Linked DNA regions of Homo sapiens: regions 1 and 3 are each linked to region 2. Evidence: promoter capture Hi-C in human tissues and cell types (Jung and others, 2019). All regions are on one chromosome and are shown on one strand. The core of a region is centred on a gene start or on the middle of the fragment in contact, and the rest is flanking DNA. Distances in the headings are between cores, read along the strand shown. Region 1 overlaps CENPP (centromere protein P). Region 2 holds the start of ECM2 (extracellular matrix protein 2). Region 3 overlaps CENPP (centromere protein P).

The links. The method cuts DNA at HindIII sites, captures the fragments that hold promoters and counts their contacts. A contact is called where the count stands out against the background at its distance.
Region 1: a contact is called between a fragment that was not itself captured here and the fragment with the promoter of ECM2 in region 2, in 2 of the 25 tissues and cell types used here (aorta and heart left ventricle).
Region 3: a fragment that was not itself captured here is called in contact with the fragment with the promoter of ECM2 in region 2 in 3 of the 25 tissues and cell types used here (aorta, heart left ventricle and hippocampus).

Annotation. Positions count from the first base shown.
Region 1 is chr9:92,496,910-92,501,482 of GRCh38, reverse strand. The region is part of intron 5 of CENPP (centromere protein P); the gene reads right to left. ECM2 (extracellular matrix protein 2) reads left to right here. Exons shown (of 10, transcript NM_001393.4): 9 at 430-756. Among named protein-coding and RNA genes, the nearest start is that of ASPN, 17 kb to the right of the region's middle. The HindIII fragment of the contact is 6,472 bases long and covers 1-4,532 here.
Region 2 is chr9:92,532,453-92,537,479 of GRCh38, reverse strand. It overlaps ECM2 (extracellular matrix protein 2), which reads left to right and starts at 1,490. Exons shown (of 10, transcript NM_001393.4): 1 at 1,490-1,547. All of the region lies in intron 5 of CENPP (centromere protein P), which reads right to left. The HindIII fragment of the contact is 14,623 bases long and covers 1-5,027 here.
Region 3 is chr9:92,571,443-92,576,000 of GRCh38, reverse strand. The region is part of intron 5 of CENPP (centromere protein P); the gene reads right to left. Among named protein-coding and RNA genes, the nearest start is that of ECM2, 38 kb to the right of the region's middle. The HindIII fragment of the contact is 4,400 bases long and covers 1-4,045 here.

The DNA.
Region 1 (4,573 bases), core at 47-2,546, 36 kb after region 2:
ACCAAAACAAGCCAAAACAAACCAAACTTCCTTGCTGGAACCAGAGACAACTTTACAGATAGGCATTTAGATGCATGCTGGGATTCACGGGATTTCATTTTGGATTCAACGCATCAACCGTACAGATATTTTAGTCTTTGGGCCTCAGTATTGCCTCTAGGGATATGAGTTTTTCCCTCCTAGTCTTTGATGCTCCTCTCGCATGGACTCACATAGCTGGGAGGCAGTATGGCACCCTGGTAAGGACATGCAGCTTGGTGCAAGAGACTAGGGCTGGCTATACCTGGAAAAGTTCCTATTTGGAATCATCACTACAAACTGGGTGCTTATAGGAAAATGGACCAGCATCGAGACTGGCCTTATCAAAATTTAGAGCTGATGATCACCATCCTGATGTCCCTACCCTGTTTACTTTTTTCTTTGCTGCAGAAATCTAGAATCCATTGATCTCTCCTACAACAAGCTCTATCACGTCCCGTCCTATCTACCCAAGTCCTTGCTGCACCTAGTACTCCTTGGGAACCAGATTGAACGGATCCCTGGCTATGTGTTTGGCCACATGGAACCAGGCCTGGAATACTTGTACCTGTCATTTAACAAACTTGCTGATGATGGCATGGACCGTGTCTCCTTCTATGGGGCATATCATTCTCTGAGAGAATTATTTCTGGATCACAATGACTTAAAATCTATACCACCTGGGATACAAGAAATGAAAGCACTACATTTTCTGAGGCTGAACAACAACAAGATACGGTAAATTTTGGCTTTTTCAAGTATCTGTTTAAATTTTGGTTGGCAAAATATATGATAAAACAACCATGACATGATCTCTGGGATTTACGTTAAGGGAAAAAAAAATGGTGCTAAGGGGTTGGATTAAACAAGATTGGCAAATGTTAGTAATTACCAAAGGTGGATGACAGGTATGTGAGGATTCATTATAAGCTTTTCCTACTTTTGCACATGTTTATAAATTTCCATAGTTAAAACATCTTTTGGTCAGGTGCAGTGGCTCACGCCTGTAATTCCAGCACTTTGGGACGCCAAGGCGGGCGGATCACCTGAGTTCAAGAGTCTGAGGCCAGCCTGGCCAACATGGTGAAACCTCGTTTCTACTAAAAATACAAAACTTAGCAGGGCGTGGTGGTGCGTGTCTGTAATGCCAGCTACTCAGGAGGCTGAGGTGGGAGAATTGTTTGAACCTGGGAGGCAGAGGTTGCAGTGAGCCGGGATGGTGCCACTGCACTCCAGCCTGGGTGACAGAGTGAGACTCCATCTCAAAAAAAAGATTAACAGATTATTATATATAACACTTAGAACTTTAGAGAGAGGTTCAAATGAGTCTTCAAAGCAATAGATTATGTTACTACTCCTACCTCCATGTATAAATAAATAAAACTAATCTATAAAGCATAAAACGTAAATATATGCTAAAATTAAAACTGCTTCTATCTAGTTTTTTCTGAAGTCAGATTTCTGAATACATTTATTAAGACTCACTTTCCCTACTTTTGGGAACACATTTTTCTGCATGTGTTCAGCTTATATACTGAATCATCACTCCTGCCTAGATGGCATGAGTGTCTTGAGAATTAATCCAGAATATTTTGTTAGTAAGGTCTTTATCATTGGCAGTGAGGGAGACAATAACCTTGTTGTTCTGTCCCTGAGAATTATGCCTCTTAGTCTTTCCCCTTCTCTAAAAGTCCAAATAAACTAAATGCCTACAAAGACAAAACAAAAACACAGAAAAGTTCGTGTTTTTAAAGGTACTGGAGGAAGAGATGGGGGTTTGGGAAGACTTTGTAAAATTCAGTTTCAAAATTTTTTGGCAAAAATACTTCACAGGTTGTGCCATATGCTTCATACTGCATTGCATCAGAAGGCGTCTAATGTTTGTCCCACCTTTTTTGATTCTAAAATTGATCACTGGATTGAAGTGGTCACAGCCTGGTATCTCCTAAGACAAATTTACTCCTCCATCATTGAACCAATGGTTTCACTCACAGATGAATGTTGTTTGAATTCTTATTTCATTAGAGGTAACAAAATGATGAATTTCTATTTTTGCCATGCTTCTCATGCTCATTAGCTGGAATTCCTCTGTAAAAAATTTTTTGCTCATCAACTAGGGCTGCTTTGTCACTTTGAAAGGAAAGAAAAAAGCTCAGTTCTTTCCTTTAAACCACCAGTGGGAGTAAGAAGTTGGAGCCTGAATGTTTTTGCTTTATTTTGTTTTAGGGTTCTCTCTTTTTCTGGTGAATCAATATATACTTAGGCTTTCATGTAAGCAGTTATGTTTCAATCAATTGCAGTCATCTGGACAATGGTCGCCATTCAAACTGGCTCTTGTGTCTGCTCACTTGCTTTTGGGCACACGTGGGCCTCAGGCTTACTTTCTGCATTACCTACTGCAGACCTTCCTCCAAAGAGCTTGGCCTCTTTCTTTGGGGAATAGTATTGAGAAGCCCCAAGTGGGAACGAGACGTGGTCCTTTCAATTGTGTTGCTATTGTTTTGAGGCCTTTCAGTGGACTGCCAGGAAATTCCGTATTTTGAAAAGAAAGTAAGTTCAGACTGACATTCCCAAATCAAATTTAACATAATTGAATATTAATTCCTTTTATTAAAACTTGTTTCTCTTACACTGAAAATCTAGGTTCCCAACAATATTAACTTGGATGATCTTACAATATGTAAACAATTGTTTCAAAATGACATCATTATTACTGCTCATAATAAAAGCTTGAAGTTTATTATTTTTTGGTAGCTCTATTTGTCTTTAGGATAAGTTCCACTAAAGAAGTACAGCTGAAATACAGTGGTTTCCTCTGTAATATGTCAACAACTTAATATTCAGACATGTTATTTAGTTTATTTTTGGTTTTTAGAAATTGCTCTTTTCTTTTTGAATTAATATTATTTTTGACTGTGTTAAATATTTTTAATTCCAAAGTCAAAACTGTGTAAGAAGTTGAATTAAGAGAAGTCTTACTTCTATGATTGTCTTTTTTTAATATATATATATTTTCTTTTTACTATACTTTTAGGGTACATGTGCACAACGTGCAGGTTTGTTACATATATATACATGTGCCATGTTGGTGTGCTGTACCCATTAACTCTTCATTTAATATTAGGTATACCTCCTAATGCTATCCCTCCCCCAACGTCTATGATTGTCTTTTATACACTATATGATCCTTCCCATAGGTTAAATTTTTAAATTTCTAGTTTATCCTTCCAGTATTTATTTTTGCAAACAAAAGCCTACATACATATACATATTTCCCCATCCCCATCCATAATTATTATACAAATTATTACACAAAAGGGCAGTTTTCTCTCTATATATGTCTTAGTCCAATTCTGATGCTATAAAGTAATGCCCAAGGCTGGGTAATTTATAAAGAGAAAAGGTTTATTTGGCTCATGGTTCTTCAGGCTGTGCAAGTAGCACGGCACTGGCATCTGCATCTGGTGAGGGCCTTCAGGCTGCTTCCACTCATGGTGGAAGGGGAGATGGAGTGTGTAGAGATTACATGGCAAGAGAGGAGGCAAAAAAGAATGGGGAGGTGCCAGACTTCTTTTTTTTTTTTTTTTTTTAAACAACCAGCTCTTATGGGAATTAATAGAACAAGAACTTACTCACTCCCCTGATCCTAGAGAGGATATCAATCTATTCATGAGTGACTTGCCCCCCATGACCCAAACACCTCCCATTAAGCACCACCTCCAACACTGGGGATCAAATTTCAACATGAGATTTGGAGGGGTCAAAAAAACCAAACCTTATGGGGTATGTGTATTTTTTCTACCCTTTTTTTCTTTTTTCTTTCTTTCTTTTTTTTTTTTTGAGACAGAGTTTTGCTCTTGTTGCCCAGGCAGAAGTGCAACGGCGTGATCTCAGCTCACTGCAACCTCGACCTCCCAGGTTCAAGCAATTCTGTTGCCTCAGCCTCCCAAGTAGCTGGGATTACAAGGATACGCCACCATGCCCAGCTAATTTTGTATTTTCAGTAGAGACGGGGTTTCTCCATGTTGGTCAGGCTGGTCTTGAACTCCTGACCTCAGGTGATCCACCCACCTTGGCCTCCCAAAGTGCTGGGATGACAGGTGTGAGCCACCACGCCCAGCCTACCCTTTACTTTTTAAAAGTATCAGTATATCACTCCCCATCAGTATGTAGAGAATTTCTTCATTCCTTTTCACAACTGAATATTATGCAGATATACTATATTTTATTCAATCAGTTCCGTATTGATAGACATGTGTTTCCACTCTTACTACTAAAAATAATGCCACAAAAGATAAGTTTGTATAAATGTCATTTTGTTTTTTTCCAGTTTAACTTTGGGATAAAATCCTAGGAGTGGGAATGCAGAGTGCAAAGGGTAAAGTGTGTATGTAATTTTACTAGATATTGCCAAATTCCTCTCCAGAGGTGGCGCACCATTTTGCATTCTCTTCAGTGGTATTTGATCGGTCCAGGCTCACTATTAGAATATGTTAATGAGCTTCTGGATTTTTTTTTTTTTTTGCAAACCTTATAAATAAAAAGTGGTATGCCA
Region 2 (5,027 bases), core at 241-2,740:
CATGTTGGCCAGGCTGGTCTCAAACTCCTAACCTCAGGTGATCCACCTGTCTCTGCCTCCCAAAGTGCTGGGATTACAGGTGTGAGCCACTGCACTCAGCTAGTTTTACATTTTTAAAAATAGATATCATTTTCCTTATTTTTAGGAAGTTGAGTGGCTTATGTATTTAGTCCCTTATCTTGATTCAGTCTATCTAGGTCATTTTACAAAATCCTGATTCAGTCTAACCACGTCATTTAAACAAATATTTAGCTCCTCTTTGCCAAATGATTTGGACCCCTGAAATAACGATATAAGAATTTCAGGCCAGGTGCGGTGGCTCATGCCTGTAATCCCAGCACTTTGGAAGGCCGAGGTGGGTGGATCACATGAGGTCAAGAGTTCGAGACCAGCCTGGCCAACATGGTGAAACCCCATCTCTACTAAAAAAAAAAATACAAAAATTAATCTGGCATGGTGGCAGGCGCCTTTAAGCCCACCTACTCGGGAAGCTGAGGCAGGAGAATCCCTTGAACCTGGGAGGCGGAGGTTTCAGTGTGCTGAGATCACGACATTGCACTCTAGCCTGGGCAACAGAGCAAAAACTCCCGTCTCAAAAAAAAAAAAAAAATTTAAAAAATAGTTCTAAAATTACCTAGTCTAGGATAGGCACTGAGTTAGGACCTTCATATCTGTTATTCCTTTTATTTTCAGAAAAATTTGAAAGGTATCACCCTAGTTTTACAGAAGAGTGAACTTTGGTCAGAAACATTAAGTAACTTACTCAAGGTCCCTCATAAACAGCAGGGTTGCGCTTGGAATCCTGATCTGTCTCTAACTTCTCATTTGCAGATAAAGAAACTGAGGCCAAAGTACACAACTAATTTGCCAGCGTAACAGGTAATTAGGAGCCACACAGCTCCCTTTCACATTTTCTTTCTATTATTTCATGGTTAGAAGTTACATAATTTCCACTGATATTAATACGTAACCATTTTTTTGTTGTTGTCGTTTTGTTAGTATTGTGTGTGAGATCGAGGTGGGTGGGCAGATGAGTTAAATATTATTAATCCAATTTAAAATAGATTCCAGATATACACAGCCTTTAGCTGACGAGAATATCATCCCTATAATCTGATAAAGCTCAAGTGACATCATCCTGGCTAGTATAAACTTTAACATTTTTAATGCGAATAGTCTATGAAAACCACAGATTTCTTAATCAAGCTCATTTTTGTGTTTCCAACTCTGCCTTTTCAGCCTGCAAACAAAATGCTCTTCCCCCACACCCACTGCTGTTTTCTACTTTTCTTATGATTAAAAAAAATATTTCCCTTGGTAACCATTTTCCCTGGTTACTTTCTTGGCTGATTTTCTGCACAAAGAACTGAAAGGCATTTATCCCCAAGGGAGGCAGTTATTTTAGATTTTACTAAGAAGTTCAGCAAATACTTTTCAACATTCCCTTCTGTCCTTTCTTTGTTTTTAAAGAAAGCTCTGATTTTGTTTCATTTTCAGCTGGAGACTTAAATGACACCAAGCAAAGCCTACTTAGTTTAGATCTCCAGGTAAAAAAGTTTTAAATTTTAAGTTTCTACTTAGCATGTGGAATGGTTTTAATATTTGGGTATTTTATTTCACAACTGTTTAACTCTTGAGTAAATTAGCTCGTTACTAATAGATTTTTAAAGTTCAAAGTATGCATTATTCTGTTTGTTTTTTTCACGATGTACTTCCCAAGTATTTCAGACCTTGTATACTTAGTATTAAATTATTTTTATATGTTTAGGTGGAATTATGTGTTCAATAGAAGTATAAATTGGTTTGAAAATATTATTAATTTTTAAGTCCTAAAAGAACATAAATAATTCAAAATATTTTTCATTTTAAATCTGTTGAATGAAGTGAAAATAGATAATAGACATCTCATGACTTCATGTAGAATTTTAAAATTCTAAATTAATATTTTTAAAGTTTACTTAAGATAACTGGTAAGAAATTTTAAATGAAGAAAAATAAGTTAATCAAGGTTTATAAATAATATTTAATGTTGGGATAAACACAGTAAGTGCTAGAAGGAAAAAAATTACTTGATAAAAATGATACTATGATTGGAATCCCAGAAAATTTACCTCTAGGAGGCAAACACTCAATTACGAAGTTGTTTATGAAAGCAAATATTAAGTGCAAAGCAAAATTCTGTATATCAATGAAAATAATGAGGGCCTAAGCATTAATAGTAAAATTAGTATTGAGAGACCATTTCCTAAAATGTATTTAAACACTGTAGTGAGACTGTTTAGATACTGATTTTGTCAAAATTCAAATAGCTCTGTAAGTTTATTTCTGTGCCTATCTATTTAGATTTCTGGGTAAGTAAAAGTGAGTCAATTTGGGGGAAAAAAAGAAAGAGAGGTAGTTTCCAGAATGAGGATACTGGGAGAGAGGGGTGTGCTCAGAATGGCCACAGCTGGCACATTCACACTCCTAAGCACTCAATCAGGCAATGCCCCATAAGTGAGTGCTTTCAGGATGCCTCAGGACAGCAGGATGCCTGAGACCCTCATGAGAGTTTAACTCTAGAGCCTCGAGGTCTAGGCCCTGACTCCTCACAACAGGATGGAAGGTCTGCACATACAATTGTTAATGCAAGAAAATTTCAATGTATACATTTCATGCATTGCAGAGCACTTATGATATCCATCAGAGCACACTTGCCATGCCACTCAGCAAATTCTAGTTTCACTTTGTCTCTCAGTTCAGGTTTTCATATTGCTTTCCCCTGCTGTTGTTGTTATTCCCTTCCAACATACTACTTTGCTCTCTGAATTGACTTTTATGATTTCAGGTGCCAATCAGCTAATGGATTTGGTCCTTCTTTACATGCTGCATGTTAATTTTTCTAAAACTAAAGTAGATTGCAAAAAGTTGTTCAAAAAGTTGTTCCAGTAACCTATGAAATATAGGTCATTTCAATAACCTATAGTAATGGTTTTCAAATGACTGTGGCAATTAATGTATATATACGCTGAAGAAAGGTTTGTATGCTGGCATGAAGATACTTTAGAGACTGCCGTTTGTTGAACAAAGGTGATGTGGCAAGTCAGACTATGAACTAACTAAGTGAAACCTGACTAGAGGAAGATGATTCTGGCAGATGAAGTTATAAAAAGAAGTACTGAGATTCAAGAGGGGAAACTGAGCTGACCTTGTGCCCTCTTCCCCTCTCACCAACTCCCTTGAAATAATACAAGATATATTACAGACAAATAAATGCACGAATATACAGCTACACTAGGAAATAAAAAGGGGAGCTCCTGGTGGGACAGACACTCTGAGGAGTCCTTCACAGACAAAGAGAAGACAGAAATGAATTTAAAGAGGAAAAATGTACCCTTGAACAGTCATGGGAGAAAACAGAGTGAAGAGAGCTTGTATAGGAAAAAAAGAAGTTTTTAGTTTAAAAGATCCCAAGAAGGATACATTAAACAGCAAAAACAACCTATACCAAGGTACATTCCATTCTTTTACCAAGGTAAAACTTCCAAATATCAAAGATATGTTGAAAATTTGAAAAAAATTTCTATAGAAAGAAAAAAAATTTCTTACAAAGGGATGAGAATCAGATTCAAGTCAAATTTCTCATCGGCAACACTAAATATAAGAAATAATGGACAAATATCTATAAGGTATTAAAGAAAAATGATTAGAATGATTTTGAAACCGTAATTCTGTTTCCAATTAAACAATGACATTTTCAGATCTTTAATAAGAGCACAGAATTTTACAACTTACAACATTCTCTGAGAAAAAGAGGATATATTTCTGCAAGAAATAAAAGGAATCTGAGGGAGCTTCTCCTTCTGATAATGGCAGACAAGGCAAGTCAGATCATTAGACCTGCTGAGAATAACTAGAAAGGGTGAGAAAAACAACAGGGCCAATATTTGGGATGGGACTGAAACCCAGAGAGGTTTAGAACAGTTTTTCTTCTAGAAGCATCTGGATTCCAGAAGAGGTGGTTGAGAAGATTAATAGAGTTTTAAAACAGCCTCAGGAGGACAGAGAGAAACAAACAAACAAACAAAATGGAGGCAAGCAAGCAGTGGGGGATGGTAGGAAAAGTGAAGTGGACCCAAAGCATATATATATATATATATATATATATATATTTTTTTTTTTTTTTTTTTTTTTTTTGTTTGAGACCGAGTCTCACTCTATCGCCCAGGCTGGGGTGCAGTGGTGTGATCTCGGCTCACTGCAACCTCCACCTCCCGGGTTCAAGTGATTCTCCTGCCTCAGCTTCCTGAGTATCTGGGACTACACGCGCGTGCCACCACACCCAGCTAATTTTTTTTGTATTTTTAATAGAGACGGGGTTTCACCATATTGGCCAGGCTGGTCTCAAACTCCTGACCTTGTGATCCGCTAGCCTTGGCCTCCCAAAGTGCTGTCATTACAGACTTGAGCCACCGCACCCAGCCCAAAGCATAATTATTAATTCAATATGGTGAAGCCCAGCTTCAAATCACTCAATATTCTATTCATAATGTACTTAACCTTATGCCTGAAACAGACGCAAATTCTCAAGTATTTTCATATACAATATCTGGCACTCCATCAAAGGTCATCAGGTATATGAAGAGACAAAACATGGCTAAAAACCTAAAGAAATAAGAGACAACCGAAATAGACACATAGAGGATCCAGAAAACCTAGTCTTCAGACACAGACTTTAAAACAAATATTTTTAATATGTTTAAAAAAATAAAAGATGAGATTAAAATTTTTAACAAAGAATTGGAAACAAAAAGAACATACTGAAAACCTGAAAACTAGAAAATACAATAAAAGAACAAGGAAGTCAATGGATAGATTTAATAGCAGATAAATCACAGATGAAGAGAGTATCAATGAACTGGAAGATCAGTTCAGAGAATAACCAGGATGAATCACTGAAGAGATAGACAAACAAAAAATACAAATGAGGGGAAAGTGACATTAAAGACACAATGAGAAAGCTGATATGCAAGTACCTGTAGTTATAG
Region 3 (4,558 bases), core at 596-3,095, 38 kb before region 2:
AGGTGAAATCAGTGGATCACATGGTAATTCTATTTTTAATTTTCTTAGGAACTGCTATGCTGTTTTCTATAGCAGCTGTACCATTTTATATCCCTACTATAACAGCGCGCAACGGTTCTAATTTTTCTACTTTCTTGCCAGTGCTTGTTATTTTCTGTTTTTTGGATAGGAGACATTCTTTTTTTTTTTGAAATGGAGTCTCACTCTGTCACCCAGGCTGGAGAGCAGTGGTGCAATCTCGGCTCACTGCAACCTCCACCTCCCAGGTTCACGCAATTCTCCTGTCTCAACCCCACAAGTAGCTGGGATTACAGGTGTACGCCATCATGCCCAGCTAATTTTTGTACTTTCAGTAGACACGGGGTTTCACCATGTTGGCCAGGCTGGTCTTGAACTCCTGACCTCGTGATCTGCCTGCCTTGGCCTCCCAAAGTGCTGAGATTACAGGCGTGAGCCACCGCGCCCAGCCTGGATAGGAGACATTCTAATGGGTGTGAGGTGGTATCTCACTGTATTTTAATTTGTAGCTCCCTAATGATTAGTGATGTTGAGCATCTCTTCATGTACTTAATGGCCATTTGTGTATATGTTCTTGGAGAAATGTCTATTCAAGTCCTTTGCCCATTTTTGAACAGAGTTGTTTTGGTGTTGAGTTTTAGGAGTTCTCTTTATATTCTGTATTATAATCCCTTATCAGATACATGATTTGCAAAATTTTGTCCTATTTGTGAGTTGCCTTTTCACTGTTCATAATGTCTGTTAGTACACAAAACTTTTACATTTTCACTAAGTCCAATCTGTCTCTTCTCCTTAAGTTGACTATACCTTTGCTGTCATATCTAAGAAATCACTTGCCAAATCCAATGTAGTGAAGCTTTTCCTGTTTTCTAAGACTATTATACTTTTAGGTTTTACATGTAGGTCTTTGATCCATTTTGAGTTAATTTTTGTATATGGTGTTAGCTAAGGTTCCAACTTCATACTTTTGCATGTGGATATCCAGATTTCCAGGCACCATGTGTTAAATGAATGTCATTTCCCCATTGAATGGTCTTGGCACATTAGTCAAAATTCATTTGACTAAGTACGGGTGGGTTCATTTTGGACTCTGTATTCTATTCCATTAGCCAATGTCTGTCTTTAAATCAGTCCTACATTGTTTTGATTATTGTAGCTTTGTAGTAAGTTTTGAAATTAAGAAATGAGTCCTCCAGCTTTGTTCTTTTTGAAGATTGTTTTGGCTACTCAGGGTCCCTTGAGATTCCATGTGAATTCTAGAATGAGTTTTTCTATTTCTGCGAAAAACATCACTGGAATTTTGATAGAGATTTCATTGAATCTGTAGATTGCTTTGAGTAGTACTGACATCTTAACACAGAGTCTTCCAATCCATGAATTTGGGACGTGTTTCCACTGATTTATGTCTTATTTTCTTTCAGCAATGTTTTGAAGTTTTCATTGTACAAATCTTTCACCTTCTTGGTTAATTCCTAGGTATTTTATTCTTTTTTTATGCTATTGTAACAAAATTGTTTTTGTAATTTCCTTTCCAGATATTGTTCACTGTTAGTGTATAGAAATCCAACCCATTTTTGTTATTGTTTTTCTAACCAATTTTAGTGTGTTCACTTTGTATTCTGCTACTTTGCTGAATTTATTTGTTTTCACAGGTTTTTGGGGGTAGAATCCTTAGTTTTTTACATATAGATCACATAATCTGTAAACATAATTTAACTTGTAGACAGCCTATAGTTACATCATTAAAAAAAATACATTCTGGGGGGAGGTTCCAAGATGGCTGAACAGGAACAGCTCCAGTCTATAGCTCCCAGCGTGAGCGATGCAGAAGACGGGTGATTTCTGCATTTCCAACTGAGGTACCGGGTTCATCTCACTAGGGCTTGTCGGACAGTGGGTGCAGCCCATGCAGCAGGGTGGGGCATCGCCTCACCTGGTAAGTGCAAGGGGTCAAGGAATTCCCTTTCCTAGCCAAGGGAAGCTGTGACAGATGGTACCTGGAAAATCGGGACACTCCCACTCTAATACTATGCTTTTCCAACGGTCTTAGCAAACGGCACACCAGGAGATTACATCCCGCGCCTGGCTCAGAGGGTTCCATGCCCACGAAGCCTCGCTCACTGCTAGCACAGCAGTCTGAGATCCAACTGCAAGGCGGCCGCGAGGCTGGGGGACAGGCATCCGCCATTGCTGAGGCTTGAGTAGGTAAACAAAGCAGCCGGGAAGCTCGAACTGGGTGGAGCCCACTGCAGCTCAGTAGGCCTGCCTGCCTCTGTAGACTCCACCTCTCGGGGCAGGGCATAGCTGAACAAAAGGCAGCAGAAGCTTCTGCAGACTTAAACATCCCTGTCTGACAGCTTTGAAGAGAGCAGTGGTTCCCCCAGCACGGAGTTTGAGATCTGAGAACGGACAGACCGCCTTCTCAAGTGGGTCCCTGACCCCCGAGTAGCCTAACTGGGAGACACCTCCAAGTAGGGGCCGACTGACACCTCATACAGCCCAGTGCCCCTCTGAGACAAAGCTTCCAGAGGAAGGATCAGGCAGCAACATTTGCCCTTCTGCAATATTTGCTGTTCTGCAGCATCCGCTGGTGATACCCAGGCAAAAAGGGTCTGGAGTGGACCTCCAGCAAACTCCAACAGACCTGCAGCTGAGGGTCCTGACTGTTAGAAGGAAAACTAACAAACAGAAAGGACATCCACACCAAAACCCCATCTGTACGTCACCATCATCAAAGACCAAAGGTGGATAAAACCACAAAGATGGGGAGAAACCAGAGCAGAAAAGCTGAAAATTCTAAAAATCAGAACGCCTCTTCTCCTCCAAAGGAACGCAGCTCCTCGCCAGCAAGGGAACAAAGCTGGACGGAGAATGACTTTGACGAGTTGAGAGAAGAAGGCTTCAGACGACTGGTAATAACAAACTTTGCTGAGCTAAAGGAGGATGTTCGAACCCATCGCAAAGAAGCTAAAAACCTTGAAAAAAAGATTAGACGAATGGCTAACTAGAATAAACAGCATAGAGAAGACCTTAAATGACCTGATGGAGCTGAAAACCATGGCACAAGAACTACATGACACATGCACAAGCCTCAGTAGCCGATTTGATCAAGTGGAAGAAAGGGTATCAGTGATTGAAGATCAAATGAATGAAATGAAGTGAGAAGAGAAGTTTAGAGAAAAAAAGAATAAAAAGAAATGAACAAAGCCTCCAAGAAATATGGGACTATGTGAAAAGACCAAATCTACATCTGATTGGTGTACCTGAAAGTGACGGGGAGAATGGAACCAAGTTGGAAAACACTCTGCAGGATATTATCCAGGAGAACTTCCCCAACATAGCAAGGCAGGCCAACATTCAAATTCAGGAAATACAGAGAACGCCACAAAGATACTCCTCGAGAAGAGCAACTCCAAGACACATAATTGTCAGATTCACCAAAGCTGAAATGAAGGAAAAAATGTTAAGAGCAGCCAGAGAGAAAGGTCGGGTTACCCACAAAGGGAAGCCCATCAGACTAACAGCGGATCTCTCGGCAGAAACTCTACAAGCAAGAAGAGAGTGGGGGCCGATATTCAACATTCTTAAAGAAAAGAATTTTCAACCCAGAATTTCATATCCAGCCAAACTAAACTTCATAAGTGAAGGAGGAATAAAATCCTTTACAGACAAACAAATGCTGAGAGATTTTGTCACTGCCAGGCCTGCCTTACAAGAGCTCCTGAAGGAAGCACTAAATGTGGAAAGGAACAACCGGTACCAGTTACTGCAAAAACGTGCCAAATTGTAAAGACCATCAATGCTAGGAAGAAACTGCATCAACTCACCAGCAAAATAACCAGCTAACATCATAATGACAGGATCAAATTCACACATAAAAGTATTAACCTTAAATGTAAATGGGCTAAATGCTCCAATTAAAAGGCACAGACTGGCAAATTGGATAAAGAGTCAAGACCCATCTGTGTGCTGTATTCAGGAGACCCATCTCATGTGCAGAGACACACATAGGCTCAAAATAAAGGAATGGAGAAGGATCTACCAAGCAAATGGAAAACAAAAAAAAAAAAAAAAAGAGGAGTTGCAATCCTAGTTGCTGATAAAACAGACTTTAAACCAACAAAGGTCAAAAGAGACAAAGAAGGCCATTACATAATGGTAAAGGGATCAATTCAACAAGAAGAGCTAACTATCCTAAATATATATGCACCCAATACAGGAGCACCCAGATTCATAGAGCAAGCCCTTAGAGACCTACAAAGAGACTTAGACTCCCACAGAATAATAATGGGAGACTTTAACACCCCACTATCAACATTAGACAGATCAATCAGACAGAAAGTTAACAAGGATATCCAGGAATTGAACTGAGCTCTGCACCAAGCAGACCTAAAAGACATCTACAGAACTCTCCACTCCAAATCAACAGAATATACATTCTTCTCAGCACCAAATTGCACTTACTCCAAAATTGACCACATAGTTGGAAGTAAAGCACTCCTAAGCAAATGTAAAAGAACAGAAATTATAACAAACTGTC